Linked DNA regions of Homo sapiens: all the other regions are linked to region 1. Evidence: promoter capture Hi-C in 16 types of primary human blood cells and fetal thymus (Javierre and others, 2016). All regions are on one chromosome and are shown on one strand. Each heading gives the region's core, a stretch centred on a gene start or on the middle of the fragment in contact. The rest is flanking DNA. Distances are from core to core; before and after follow the strand shown. Region 1 holds the start of CPNE5 (copine 5). Region 2 holds the start of ETV7 (ETS variant transcription factor 7). Region 3 holds the start of PXT1 (peroxisomal testis enriched protein 1). Region 4 holds the start of STK38 (serine/threonine kinase 38).

What was found. The method cuts DNA at HindIII sites, captures the fragments that hold promoters and counts their contacts. A CHiCAGO score of 5 or more calls a contact.
Region 2: a contact is called between the fragment with the promoter of ETV7 here and the fragment with the promoter of CPNE5 in region 1, in 5 of 17 cell types (erythroblasts, total B cells, naive B cells and 2 more). The highest score is 7.0, in erythroblasts.
Region 3: the fragment with the promoter of PXT1 here is called in contact with the fragment with the promoter of CPNE5 in region 1 in 4 of 17 cell types (total B cells, monocytes, neutrophils and 1 more); the score reaches 8.9 in total B cells.
Region 4: a contact is called between the fragment with the promoter of STK38 here and the fragment with the promoter of CPNE5 in region 1, in 2 of 17 cell types (naive B cells and total B cells). The highest score is 6.2, in naive B cells.

What each region holds. Positions count from the first base shown.
Region 1 is chr6:36,837,729-36,841,164 of GRCh38, forward strand. CPNE5 (copine 5) reads right to left here and starts at 1,716. Exons shown (of 21, transcript NM_020939.2): 1 at 1,555-1,716. The coding sequence starts at 1,649. RefSeq lists a silencer at 2,180-2,389 and an enhancer at 3,074-3,436. The HindIII fragment of the contact is 11,867 bases long and covers 1-3,229 here.
Region 2 is chr6:36,385,997-36,389,432 of GRCh38, forward strand. It overlaps ETV7 (ETS variant transcription factor 7), which reads right to left and starts at 1,673. Exons shown (of 8, transcript NM_016135.4): 1 at 1,540-1,673. The coding sequence starts at 1,545. It overlaps ETV7-AS1 (ETV7 and PTX1 antisense RNA 1), which reads left to right and starts at 624. Exons shown (of 2, transcript XR_926758.3): 1 at 624-934. RefSeq lists an enhancer at 744-1,567 and a silencer at 1,694-1,903. The HindIII fragment of the contact is 3,834 bases long and covers 833-3,436 here.
Region 3 is chr6:36,441,116-36,444,551 of GRCh38, forward strand. PXT1 (peroxisomal testis enriched protein 1) reads right to left here and starts at 1,739. Exons shown (of 5, transcript NM_152990.4): 1 at 1,420-1,739. It overlaps KCTD20 (potassium channel tetramerization domain containing 20), which reads left to right and starts at 1,885. Exons shown (of 8, transcript NM_173562.5): 1 at 1,885-1,996. RefSeq lists enhancers at 206-753, 2,238-2,337, 2,943-3,002 and silencers at 560-629, 1,788-2,077. The HindIII fragment of the contact is 5,749 bases long and covers 1-3,436 here.
Region 4 is chr6:36,545,837-36,549,272 of GRCh38, forward strand. STK38 (serine/threonine kinase 38) reads right to left here and starts at 1,643. Exons shown (of 14, transcript NM_007271.4): 1 at 1,354-1,643. RefSeq lists an enhancer at 1,178-1,701 and a silencer at 1,449-1,788. The HindIII fragment of the contact is 2,076 bases long and covers 860-2,935 here.

The DNA of each region.
Region 1 (3,436 bases), core at 466-2,965:
AAGAGTGAAATCTGGATGGGGAATGGGCTGTTCAGAGGCTTGGAGGTGGGAAGGATCCCAAGACAACTGAAGATGACAGGCATGATTGAAGGCTGGGAGGGAGTGCCAGGCGCAGGGATGTGCGTGCAGGAGAAGGGTGGGGAGGCCGTGCTGCTTTTGATGGCTGAGGAGGTGAGACTGGAGCTAATGGGCCATCAGGAATCTCCCAGCAGAGTAATGACAAGATGCAAATGGCGTTGGGAGATGATCCTGACGGCATGGTGTATGGGACCTGGGAGCTATCACAGGAGCCCCCAGAGGGCCTGGCTTAGGGGGGAAGCTACGTTCAACCAGACTAGCCTTCACTGCCACTTATCCCCAAGTCTTCAAGAGAAAGTCACACTGAGTCCTTCCCTCCTTCACGCCCCTGCCCAGACTCTCCAGCTCTACCTACACCTCATCAATGCCACAACTTTGTAATACAGGACTGGGGGGCAACAAGGTTACCTCTCATGGAGGGTCTGACCAAGGAGCAACCTGGAAGAGGATGAGATGGGTGATTTCGAACAAGGGCACAGCCAGGGCTCCAGAAATGCTGTCGGTGATCTGGGGCAGGGGGCATGGCCTCTGTGGGGGAACCTCAAAGTGGGTGATGCTTGCGTGGCAGCACATGATCCTAGGCCAGCCACAGAGAGACTGAACTAGGGAAAAATCCCCCTTTGCCACCCATACCCTCTTACTGCCAGGGGCAGCCTTCCCCTAGCTAGGAGAACCTGGGGTCGACCCAGCTCTTAGACAGAGAAGTTACCCCCAAACCCTGTGTGACATGAGTGAAGATTTGGGCGTGGTAGCCCACAAAAATATTCCCCCTCCTCCTCTGTTGGACTCTACAGTTTCACAATCAGTGTTCTATTCCTTTGGCTTAAGATTTTTGACCCAAGTTATTTTTTTAATGGTGCCACTTTAAGTTGTTATCATGTATCCACACCTTAGTATGAATGAGTCAATCTGATCCTTTTCCAGGAGTCGATTTCGTTGTTGATAGAGATGAAGGAAGGCTTTAAAATCCTAGAGTCTAGGACAGTGGGGTGGGGGAGACTGGTGAGGGGAGGATCAGGATGCTGGGGCAAAGAAGGGGCAAAGAGAGAAGAGAGGAGGGCACAGAAGGGAGAGGGTGGACGAGCCTGGGAGGGATGGGGGCAAATCACTCACTTCGTGATTTGGGGATGGGGTGATCAGAGATAGCCTGAGCAGAGACCGTAGTACAGCCTTTTACCAACTCCCTCTCCCCACTTGGGTGCCTGGACCCCCTGTTCCTGTGTCTTCATATCTCCTCGATGCAACAGCCTGGAGCGCAAACTTTCTGGGATATGACCCCAGCCTGGCTTCCTATTCTGCCGTCGCCACCCGCAGCTGGACAGGACAGGGGCTCTTGGCAGATCGGCAGGGGCGCAGTCCTGGAGACCAGGACACTCTGGGAAGGGGGCGCGCGGAGGTTTAGGATCGAAGCGGCAGGGGCCGCGGGGCTCTGCGTCCAGGGCCGGGGCAAGGGGACCCGGCCAGCGGGAGGCTCACCTGCAGGACACGGTGATCTCCACCTTGGTGGCCGGGATGCTGCCCGCCAAGGAGTCGAACTCGCTCAGCGACGCCATGTCCTCAGGCTGCTCCATCGCCCACCGCACCCCCCACCCCAAATTAGTCAATCCCTGCGCGATTCACGCCTCCTCCGGAGCGACTGGAGCCCTGGGCTCTCCCCCAACTCCAGAGCCTGGGCTGGGCGGCAAGGGGAGGAGAGAGGAGCGCGAAGAGGGGGCGTGGGAAGTGAGAGAGGGAAGAGGGCGGAGGGAGCGGGGGCCGCGGATCGAGGAGGGGGCTCGGGTGACGCCGCGAGGAGGCTAGGGGCCCAGTGGGGAAGGGCAAGGAGCCCAGGGAGCGGGGGCACAGCGGGGAAGGCAGAGAGGGGCGCGGGGAGAGGGGCTCGGGGAGAGGGCACCGGGAGGGAAACGCGGAGTCGTGGAGAGGGGCACCAGGAGAGGGACGCGCGTCTGTGGGCAGAGGTAGAGGGGATGCAGAAGACAGGGAGAGGGGCGTGAGGAGCGGGAGGCGCCGGATGGGGCGCTGGCGGCGGGGGTGGCGGGGCGCCGGCAGCGCGGAGCCCGAGCGCCCGGGCTGCGCCGCCTCTCCCTGGGTCTTGGCGCCGGCGGCGACGGGGCTGAGACGCGGCTGCGAGCGCCACCTCCTCGGCTCGGGCTTCGGCTCCGGGGCGCCCGGGCTGCGGGAAAATCAAATCTGCCCGAAGCCGCAGCCTCCCGCCGCCCGGGAACGCCAGAGGGGGCGCCCGCAGGGGCCGGGGCGGGGCCGCGGGCGGGGTCTGCGCGCAGGGTGAGTGTGAGCGTGTGTGTGTGCGCGTGTGTGTGTGTGTGCGCGCGTGGCGGGCCGGGGGACGCGGTCCAGATGCTGGGGACGTGGCGGGTGACAGCAAGAGGTGGTCCTGGTCGCGCGCATCTTCATTTGCGCCCGCCCCCTCTCACCACCCCTATCTCCCATCAGGGGTCTCCATCCTGGGGGAGGGGGAGGGTTATGGGAACCAACGGGCGCCTTTTTGAGAAAGGTCTATGCAGGGTTGAGAGGGGGCATAAGTGGGAGGGAGGTGTGCAAAAAAGATCCCCTCCCAGGGGCTTGGGTGTGGAGGGTCTCTGCTGAGTGTGCGCCCTACTCGGGGGCGGGTCTCAGTTCAGAAACAGACCCTACATCTCCTTCTGGGGAGGTGTGTGGGGGCGACCCCAGTGCCAGGAGGGACTACCTCGGTTTCCCAGTGGCCCAGGTGGGGTCGGTGCATGGGCGCCTCCCCCATCCGTGGTTCCCGCCAGCCGCGGCCTCGCCAAGTCGGCTGCCGAAACCACGCGCCAGCGCCCTTCCACTCCCCCGCCCGTCGTGACCACACGACTGAGCCAGCCTCCAGGTCTAGAAGCTCCTGCCACCCAGTCTGGTGGCAACCAGACTGGGAGATCGGCCCGAGCTCCCTGGGCTTCTATGCAGCCAGCACCGAGTAGGCGCGTGCTGTGTGCCTGGCGAGCGAGGGGAGAGTTGGGACACCTCTCCTGCAGTCCTCTTCCCAGCCAAGCCCCTCGCGATCCCCCGCCCTAGCCCAGCCTTGCCCTCCCGGGCATGAGGTTGCAGCGCAGAGGCGTCTCCCTGAGTAAGGCTGCACACGTAGACTTGACTCTAGCCCATCCTCAGCCTCAGCCTAAGCTTTGCCGAGCTGGAACCTCCACTTCCTCGCCCACCGCCTGGCACATCGAAGCCGATGTGCCTCGGGCCGGCGGGGAGGCCAAAAACCTGGTGCTGGGCTGGGCAGAGTTGCGCTCTCTGGGCCTTGTTTGTGGCAGCGGGACCATAAGGGGCTCCTCCGGATTCTGTTTGAAGTCAATTCCTGGAACATCAGATACTGTCAGTC
Region 2 (3,436 bases), core at 423-2,922, 450 kb before region 1:
AACCTGAGGGGCCAGGATCAAAAGACCTTAAATCAGAAATAAACAAATAGACCAGGTGCGGTGGCTCACACCTATAATCTCAACACTTTGGGAGTCTGGGGCGGGTGGATTACTTGAGGTCAGGAGTTTGAGACCAGCCTGACCAACATAGTGAAACATTATCTCTACGAAAAATACAAAAATTAGCCGTGCGTGGTGACCGGCGCCTGTAATCCCAGCTACTCAGGAGGCTGAGGCAGGAGAATCACTTGAACCCGGGAAGCGGAAGTTGGAGTGAGCCAAGATCACGCCACTGCACTCCAGCCTGGGCAAGAGAGCAAGACTCCGTCTCAGAACAAACAAACACTATTTTCAAAAGAGAAAAAGAAAGGATAAGGATACATTTCTGAATCCTAAGGTCTCACCACGGGAAGCCTGTATCTTTACAATTCAACAATCAGCATGGCCCCCAGAGATGACGGGGTTCATCCATTCAGATGAGAAAATGAAGAAAGTGGCAGGATTTTGTAGGAATAGGAAGCTCCTTCGGGCTCATGCCCAGCCACAGGCTGCCACAGCACGGAAAGGAAAAGTGAAACCAGCTCCATCAAGTCATTTTTCACTCTAGGATTGTCAAAAGCTTTACATTCATCTCTTGGGATCCGAGGAGAGATATCTGCCGAGAGAGAATTTGGATCGGAGCCAGCAAAGCAAACTCCAGAAGCCTTGGCTGCTGCGAAAGGGGATTCAACACCTTTCCGGGTCGTTCTCACTTCATTTCCAGCCGGTCCCCCTTTGGTGCTGTTTCCCAAGTAATCAGACCTCAGGGGTTGCCTCCTGGTGGGGAAAGGGAAGCTTGCCTTGCTGGAGAAGGGGCTCAAGGCACAGGACTTGCCTCGGACTTGCCAAGGAGGCTTGCAGGAGGCTCTTTGTCTACTCCTCTGTCCTCATCCAAGTAAGAGGAGCGGGGAATTCCGAGGCTGTAACTGCCTGGGAAACGCCAGCCACGGAGCTGCTGAGGATCAGACTCCTGGGTTTCAGCATGGAGGCCAGGGAAGGGTCTGATAATGGGTATGGGTCCTGGCGAGAGGGGAGTGGAGAAAGGCCTTGGAGTGGGACGGGGCGCCAGCTCTGGGGGCAGTCTCGAGGCACCTAGAAAACCGGCGAGTGGGGAGAGGCTGCTAAAGAGGGGCTCCCTGCGAGAATGCGTTCACCAGCTGTGAGGACCTGGCTGGCGCACGAACTTCCAAAGACCTCACATCTGGTTGGTGTAGGGGCGACCAGTGGTAAGGGGGCTGCGGAAAGGGCCCGCAGGGGCTGTGCGTGATGCCTTCAGAGCTGTGTATGACACCGAGAGAGTCAGGGGCGGTGACCCGCGTCTGGAGGTGGAAGGGGAAGTGAGTGAGGGATGGATGTGAGGTTTAGGAATGTGTTGGAAAGAGAGATTCCCGCCAGGTAAAAGGTCTGATAAAATAGGTTTGGAAATCTAGGTGGTGAGGAAAGGATGCGGGAGCAGGTGGCTCTGCGTGCGCGCTGCGTGTTCAGCCGCCAGGCTCTTACCTGCATTACAGGTGGAGGTGAGGAAGCCACCGGCTTTCTGTCTTGAGCGCTCCCCTGGCTGTGGCTGCTGGGGCCCTAGGCCCGCGCCCCGCAGTCCTCCTCCGCCAAACCCCTAACCTGGCTCCGAGAACTGGAAGGTCGCGTGGGAGGAAATCTCTTTCGAGAAGCGCCAAGGCGTGTGCGCCCGGGTCCTCCGCAGGCGGGCAGGCGCGCGAGGCGCTCCGGTAATCGCTATCCTTCCGGGAAACGAAAACGAAAGAGCGGGATGCGGTTCCACTTGCGCCGCTGCGGGCTAGGAGCAGGGCAGGGCAGGGCAGGGGCCGGCCCCGTGGGAGCGCAGCACCGGGGCGCTGCCCGCTCGCTAGCCTGGGAGGCGTGGGTCCTGCACACAGCCTCCAGCCGGCGGACAGTCCCTCTGGCGACCTGGCCTTGGCTCCCACTGGGGCAGAGCCGGGATTCTGCAGGATCTGAGGATCTAAGGGGACCCCTAGTCCTGAACTCGGAACCAACTGCGTCTCTCACGGTCCCGAGCCCAGGACCAGGAAGGACCCTGTGAGTCTCCGCACATAGGATAGGAAGGGGCCTCGCATGGTGCCTCTCCCTTTAGGGGTGAGTGACCTTCCCGGCCCCGATACTGTCTCGGCCTGCCGTTTGGCCCCGCTGAGGCCCCACAGGTCCGGAACCGTCGCACCACCATCAGAGCGGCTGTGCTCTCCTGAGCAGGGCCAGACTACTCGGAGATCCCGACTGACACCTTTTCCTGGGCCTCTGGGTGCTCCGGGGTTGGTGCCTGCCCACCCATCACCCTTTCCATCTGTCTCAGCTCCCCCTGTCTCAAGAGAGGTTGTGCGCATAAAAACAAACCAGAAGACACCGAAGAAAAGGAAAGAAAAGCATTAACAACCTTCTGCTGAAAATCTGAGGGTGTAGACGCTGTTACAAAGTAGGCTTAGCACTGGTATATCATCACAAGCTCTAGGCCAGCAATAAGAAACCAGTAAGAACAAGGCCAGAAACCCAGTAGGAAAAAAAAATGAGCAAAGGATATGAATAAACAGTCCACATAAAAGGAAATGCCAAATGGCTCCTGAATATACAAAAAGATGCCCAGGGTGCAGTGGCTCATGCCTGTAATCCCAGCACTTTGGGATGCCAAGGTGGGAGGATCGCTTGAGCCCAGGAGTTGGACACCAGTCTGAACAACATGGTGAGATCCTGTCTTTACTGAAAATTTAAAAAATTAGCCGGGCATGGTGGGGCTACACCTGTAGCCCCAGCTATTCAGGAGGCTGAGGATGGAAGATCGCTTGAGCCTGAGAGTTGGAGGCTGCAGTGAGCCGTGACTGTGCCACTGCACTCCAGCCTGGGCAGCAGAGAAAGAAAAAGATGCTCAGACAAACTCACTATTTTAAATGTGCAAATTAAAGTTATTCTGAGATAGAAATTTTTACCCATAAATTTGGCAAAAATTTAAAAGTTTACTAACATAATCTGCTGGAAAAGCTGAGGTAAAGTGGTGCAACCCCACAGCGGGGTCTGGCAAATTTACAAATGCATTTTCCTTTCACCCAGCAATCTGCCTACCAGAAATTTATTCAACAAATATCCAAAGTATACATAGTTACTTATTTAATCATGGTTTATAATAGCAAAGTATGAGAAATAACTCAGGTGTCCACAAAAGGAGGCTTGATAAACTAATGCACATTCATTTCTTTTAATTTTAATTTTCTATTTTTTTTTTTTTTTTAGAGACAGGGTCTCACTCTGTCGCCCAGGCTGGAGTGCAGTGGTGCCATCAAAGCCCACCTTAACCTCCAACTCCTGGGCTCCAGTGATCTCCCACCTCAGCTCCCAAATCACTGGGATTACAGATGTGAGCCACCACACCCAGCCA
Region 3 (3,436 bases), core at 489-2,988, 400 kb before region 1:
AAAAAAAAAAAAAGAAAGACAATATACAAATCTACGGGAAGGAATCTTTCCAGAAAGGAAGAATTTGTTTCAAGAACTGTTTTGCAGGAATATCAGAAGGTTTTTTATTTTTCTTTGACTCAAAGGCTGTAACACTGTACTTTATAAAAATGGAAATAAAGGCATTAGTTTGAACAATCCTCTATGCTGCTACTGTTGTAAAGTTTGGAGCCTATAACTCACTCAAATTGGTTTATAGCCATGTGTTTACTAAATCTTTTTTCATATTCCTTTTCTCCAGGCATACAGGAATTTATATCTCACAGCCTTCTTAGAGTCAGTCAGGTTGAGCCTGGTGACTAGTTCAGGACAGTGAAACGTCAGCAGAAGTGAAAAGGCCACTCACTTCTGGCAGAGGCAAAGGAGAGCCCTTACAGGATTCTCCAATCTAGCTCTTCTGCCAGCCCGGAAGTGCTGGGAGGGCAGAGCCACTGACGCAAGCAGCAGGGAAGCTGAGTCACCATGGGGACGTGAGACTGACTTACAGATGACGAGTGCAGCCTCACAGCCTAGTCCATGTTGAGATAAACACAATACAGTCCTGCATACTTTATAGTCATAAACGAGGGAGAATAGAAATGGAAAATGACCCTCTAGGCCTCTAAGACCAAATTATAATGAAAAAATTTATGTCTTCAGTTTTGAAAATTAAATTTTTTGACCCTGATAAAACAAATTTGCTATACAAGTATCCGTTAACCGTGTGAAACCTACTGAGTCAAACTATTTTCTTACATTCCTTCCACTTCAACACCAATTCTAATCCAATTCCAAATTAGTTTTCAGAGAGTCTCTTGTAAGGAAAAGGAGAATCGACTTCGAATTTTAAAATTTGTGCTATTATTAGTTTATAGAGCTTTCAACAATTTACAAATAGTTTGCATAATCAGTATATTTAATTAGTATATATAGACATATATATATATATTTGAGAGGGAACTTCACTGCAACCTCCCAGTTGCCTCCTGGGTTCAAGTGATTCTCCTGCCTCAGCCTCCCAAACAGCTAGGGTTATAGGCGCCCACCACCACGCCCGGCTAATTTTTGTATTTTTAGCAGAGACAGGGTTTCATCATGTTGGCCAGGCTGGTCTGGAATGCCCAACCTCAGGTGATCTGCCCGCCTCGGCCTCCCAAAGTGCAAGGATTACAGGCGTGAGCCACCAAGCCCGGCCTAGTGTAATTTTTAAAAGTACAAAAGCCACTAGAAACCGTGACAATAAGAACTTCCTTTTGGGTTTTCCAGCATTTGGTTCATAGGACATGGACCATATATAGATGTTTTTTGAATGCTGAAATCTTTTACTCATAACACAGTTTTCCCAGTAACTTGCTTCCGGTTGATTTAAAATTTGTAATACACCTTTGTAATAGCAGGTACCTTCATGAAACTCAGTATTTGAGAAAAATGTGGAGTTTTTCCCCCTTTCTTTTGGCCAGAATGTATATCCAGGGTAGTGACTTTCGAGCAAATGCGTTTAAGCAACTCCAGTATTCTTACTACGCTACCTCCAACCTCGCTCCACGCATGGGGAGATCAGGGTTCCACATTTTCGGGTAAGCATTAGCCGTCCTGGCGCTGCACGAGCGTATTCTACAATTCCGAAAACTACTAACTTTTCCGTCTGCAACCTTTAATAATTGAGAGGGTATGCGCAACTCAGAAAAGTGCGCCCGCTGAGGTTGGGTGCAGAGTGGACTGGAGGAAAGGCGACACCCATTTACGGTGCGGCCCCGGACGGGGTCCCCAGACACGGCCTTCCCGGCGTGCCACGCGCGGAGGGGACTCTTAACGTGAAGCGCTGGGTGACTCAGCCGCGTGGCCGCGCGGTCCGGGGCGGGGGGCGCGCGCCGCTGCGGCACAGCCGGTCCCGGCTGCGGCTTCTGGCTGCGCGGCCTGCGCGCGCCTCCCGGGCGGATTCCAGCCCCGAGCGGGACAGCGCGGCGGGGAGCGACGAGTAAGTGGCGGCGCGGTACGGTTTCGGGCGCGAAGACCGGGCAGGGAGAGTGTGGCGGCGGGCGTGGCCCGAGTCTTCCCTTTGTGGCCGAGGGGGCGTCTCCTCCGGACGCGGCGGCGGTTCGGACCCCCGAGTCGAAAGGCCGCGGGGCTGAGCTGGGCGCGAGGAACCTGTGGGCAGCGGCTTGATGGGCTCCTGTTTCCGCGCGGAGGGCAGAGTCTGGTGATCCTGGGGAGGGAGGCGACGCTGCGCCCAGGTGGTGGGCACAGCTGAAGTGTAACTTGACTGCTTGACTGCTTTTTGCAGGCCTCGGGTGGTTCATCCCGCCGGAGAGGAATGGCGAGAACCTGGAGTGTTGACTGGCAAAACATTTGCAGACGCGGTTTTTCTGGCAATTAATTGGCTCCATTAAAAATTAGGTAGTTGGTGGGGACTTCCTCCTGAACTCTGGAGCCGAGCGCATTTTGCTCGGTCTTTTCAGCCCTGTTTCCGCGTCTTCCTTCCCTGCCACCCGCAAATTGCCAGCTTTCATCCGTGGCTCTGAGTGCAAAAGAGCTGGGGAAAGCCTTAACCAGCAATTTTCTTTTAAATAAAACTTTGCTTTTTATAGCAGTGTCTTCAGGTTTAGAAGCCCAGTTCTGCACTATGAGAAAACTCTTCTATTTTGGAGTTTGTGATTCTTTCTGAAAATTCCTCAGTTGAAGAGATTTATTTTTAAATAAGAATCTAGTGAACAAACTAACATGATAAACAAGGCTGTGAAGGAACTGTTTAACCAGCTTATGAAAATATGTCCCAGAGTCCTTAGTTTTGTTCCTGTTCGCTGTGCGAGAAGTTGAGGTAGTTTTTTAATGGTCTTCAAAACAAAGTGTTGTAGTAGTGTCTGTCGGATGTGATGAATCCAGAGTCAGAGGACTTCCGCTCAAGGCCCCCACCTGAAACCCCAATTCCTAGGCCATAGTTCTGAAACAGAAGATTGTTCCTTAGTAATAAGGTTGCAGTACCCTAGCACCTCTTCCATAAATTTGATTCTAGAGATTTGTGATGGGTCCCTGAGTCTGGGATTTAAGCAAGCACCTGCACTCTTGGTCTGTTACTGATGATCCAGGGACCGACCACACGTTGACAGACACCACCTTTAGGCTGGGCTGGGAATTTTAAAAACTGCCCAACAGCCTTAACCCTTTGTCGATGTTTTCCTCCCCTGCCCTAAACCAGTCGTAGGACAAGAAGCCCTGACTCTCCAGAAGCCAATATGAGAAAAGATAGTGCTTTTTTTGACCCTGACACGGGGTAGGAAATGATTTTCATGCATATTCCGATATTGCTCTGATGGTTTAGAGATAGCCCATTAATCTTTTCCTTCTGAGGGCTGCTTCTAGTATCATCAGAGCTTAATGCCATTAGGCCAAATCTCCTCCGCCCAGCTCACTCAAGTCT
Region 4 (3,436 bases), core at 393-2,892, 290 kb before region 1:
AACTGATCCTCATAAAAGTCAGGTGTAAGGCCTGCAAACTCAAAAGGAAGTCAAATGAAAACCATTATGTGATTCAATCTATATGGTTATGCCTGGCTAACTGACTGACTTTACAATGGTACTCTGTGATCACTATAAACAACCCTCTCTCAACAATATGGACTTTATTTCTTTGCGACTGACAATCCATTATCTTTCATTTGGACGATTCAACATTGGAGCTAAGATTATTGCTTAAGTCGCATGTCTAATCTCTCCCACTGAACTGTAAATCCTACTAAACTGTAATCTCTACCTACACTAGAAAGCAAGCACCATGTCTTATACTTGTTTTAATATTCTTCCCCCATTTCATGCACAGTGCTATGCACTTAGCACCTTAAGAAAGATTAACTAGGAAATATACTCATTTTTGATGTCCATTCCTAGGAGTTTATGTGTGATGGGGGATAGGGCTGGGACATGAAATGGTTTGCTATAGCGTTCTCTCCTCTTAGGAGGAAGCTGGTATCTAACGTTTAGGGTGGGGAGGAGAGCCTGTTATCGAGGTGGTGGTTGTTTTATGTTTAGGGAAACCAAATATATTGCCTGGCTAATTCAGAGGCAGGGTGAGCTCAAAGGGTGGAGACACTCAGGGTCTACTTCACTCCAACCCTCCTCGGTGCATTTCAAACAGAACAAGTTTCTCTCCGAGTCTTTTAGTCGTTTCAGAATGAACTGAGAGATCTGGTCTCTCTGCCGGCCGTTCTGCCCGCTTTCTGACACAGACTTTCCTCTAAGCCCTTACCGACTTTTTCCTCTGGCTGTTGCTTTTCCACTCTCTTCTTAAGAATTTTCCCTGCCTTTTCCTGTGATTTGAAGCTTATCTGAAGCCCAGTATCCTAAGACTAACGGAGAAAGGAGCCGACTCAAAGATACCACACCCCAAGGGGGGCTTTCGACATCTCTGCCTCAGACCACAGTTCACAGACCCCAGAAGAAGGAAAAGGAGATAAAAACCGGTGATGACCGAGATCCCTGAGGGACTGACTGGTGGCAGGGAGCAGACAAAGGTGGCAACATGGAAAGGAAAGCCTGGCTCCCGCTCCAACTGCAAAAGGAGAAAGATAAAGGATGGGGTGGAAAGGCTGGGACTGGAAAAATGTGGAGAGGGCCAACAAGGGGCATCTGGAGACGGGGGAAGAAGGGGGTTAAGGAGAGGGGCGGAGAGAGGCCAAGAGGCTGAGAGGTTAGGGCTTGAAAGAGGGCGCCGGCGAGCAGGAGAAAGCCCAAGAAGGAGTCGGAGGTTGGGGAAGGAGGAGATAAAGGAAAAACCCCGGGATGGAGTGAAGACGGCGGCAGCAAGCAACTCACCAGAGCCCAGGGAGAGGCAGGGCTGGGGACGGCGGAGAGCCGCAGACGCCCCTTCGGCCAGTAGTCTCGACTTGAAGGCTGGCGAAGCCCCGGCGGCGGCAGCCAACGAGCCAAAGACGGGAGGGGACGCGTGAGGGACTCTGAGACAGGGGGCAACAGGCGGTTACGGGTGAGGACAACAGGAAGCGTTCCAACTGCCGGAAAAGACGCGAGCGCTGAGGGGCCAAGGCAGCCCGGTCCCCCGCCGCGGAGACGGGCTGGCGCGGCAGCCCGGGGCCGAGACTACGCATGCGCGACTTCCCGGAGCGGCCGGGATTGCGGAACTGCGCTTGCGTGGCCCCGCCCTGCCCCTCCCTTCACCCCCTGCCTAGGGCTGGCTGGACCTGGGTGAGGCCAGATGTGTGAGTGTGAGGCGGTCTCGAAGTAGGCTGGGCTGAGGGGGAAGTTCCATTGTTTTCTTTTGTTTTACTTTTTACTTCGAAATAATTATGGACTCACAAGAAGTTGCAAAATTAATACATACAGGTTCCCTATACCATCACCCACCCAGCTTACCTCAACATTTTTCTTAAGATACAACATTCTCAAAGCCAGGAAATTGACATTCGCACAATACAATTAACTAAACCAATACAATTAACTAAACCAATACAATTAACTTCATTACAGACCACACTCGGATTTAACCTGTTGGGTATGCAGTCATGTGCGTGTGTGTGAGTGTGTGTGTAGTTCTATGAAATGTTGTCACCTGTATAGTTCCCACCCACCCCCCTACCCCGTGTAGAACAGGTCTGCTGGAGCCCTTGGCCCCCCTCCTCTTCCTTAAAGTAAGGACCTTACCTGGGATAAGGTGAGCTCTCATAGGTTTGGGAGGTTACCCAGCGGGCGACCCAGTGTGGACAGAAGAAGGTGCTTTTCAAGGCCACCCAACTCTTATTCTGTACTACTTTTGGGGGTAAAGAGGTCCCAAGTTTAATAGCCTTTGGGCACTTGTCGTTTCTTGAGAATGGAGCACAAAGCCCTCAACTACAAAGTGTCAAGCTCCTGGAAACTAAGATGAACGAGACATGGTCCCTGACTGCCTGCAAAGGGGCCATCTAGGGAGAGAAGGAAGCATGTGCTGCGAGTTATTCATTCATTTCATCTTCAAAGCCCAGTTTCCTTTTGTCTAGCCTCTTAACAAAAATCACTTCTCGCCAGGCGCGGTGGCTCCTGCCTGTAATTCCAGCACTTTGGGAGGTCCAGGTGGGAGGATAGCTTGAGCCTAGGAGTTTGAGACCAGTCTGGGCAACATAAGGAGAATCCACCTCTAAAAAAATTTTTGTAATTGGCCAGCATGGTGGCAAGTGCCTGTGGTCCCACCTACTGTGGAGGCTGAAGCAGGAGGATTGATTGAGTCCAGGAGTTCAGGGCTGCTATGAGCCATGATCATGACACTGCACCCCAGCCTGGGCAACGGAGGGAGACCCTGTCTCAATCAGTCACTACATACATATCAATCAATCACTTCGCCTTTCATTCTCTCTGCCCAGAGGCCCTTCTCCCCAAATGCCTGTTGTCAAAGTCCTACCCATTCTTAAGCTTTTAATAATAGTCCAAGATGTCTGCATAATGCTTTACAGTTTACAAACAACTTTCACTTATTTAATCTCACTTGGTCCTCACTTTGGCAGTGACACACGAGGTTTTGCAGATGAAGTAATTGATACTTAGAGAAGCTAAGTGACTTGTCTGAATTCCCACGGCTAGTAAGCCAAGTAGCCAAGAGGGGAACCCCATTTTCTGTCTGCAAATCCAATGTTCTTTCTCCTCTTCTCTTTCCTCCTTCCAAAGCCCAGCTCAAACCTTATCTTCCTCCTGGAACTTTCCCAGTTTCAGAAGAGGAATTTCACTCTCTCTTCTCTCTTATATATATGTTTTTTTTGGTGGGGGGAGGGGGGTTGTTTTTGTTTTGTTTTGAGACGGAGTGTCGCTCTATCACTAGGCTGGAGTGTAGTGGCACGATCTCGGCTCACTGCAACCTCCACCTCCCAGGCTCAAGTGATTCTCCTGCCTCAGCCTCCTTAGTAGCTGGGACTAC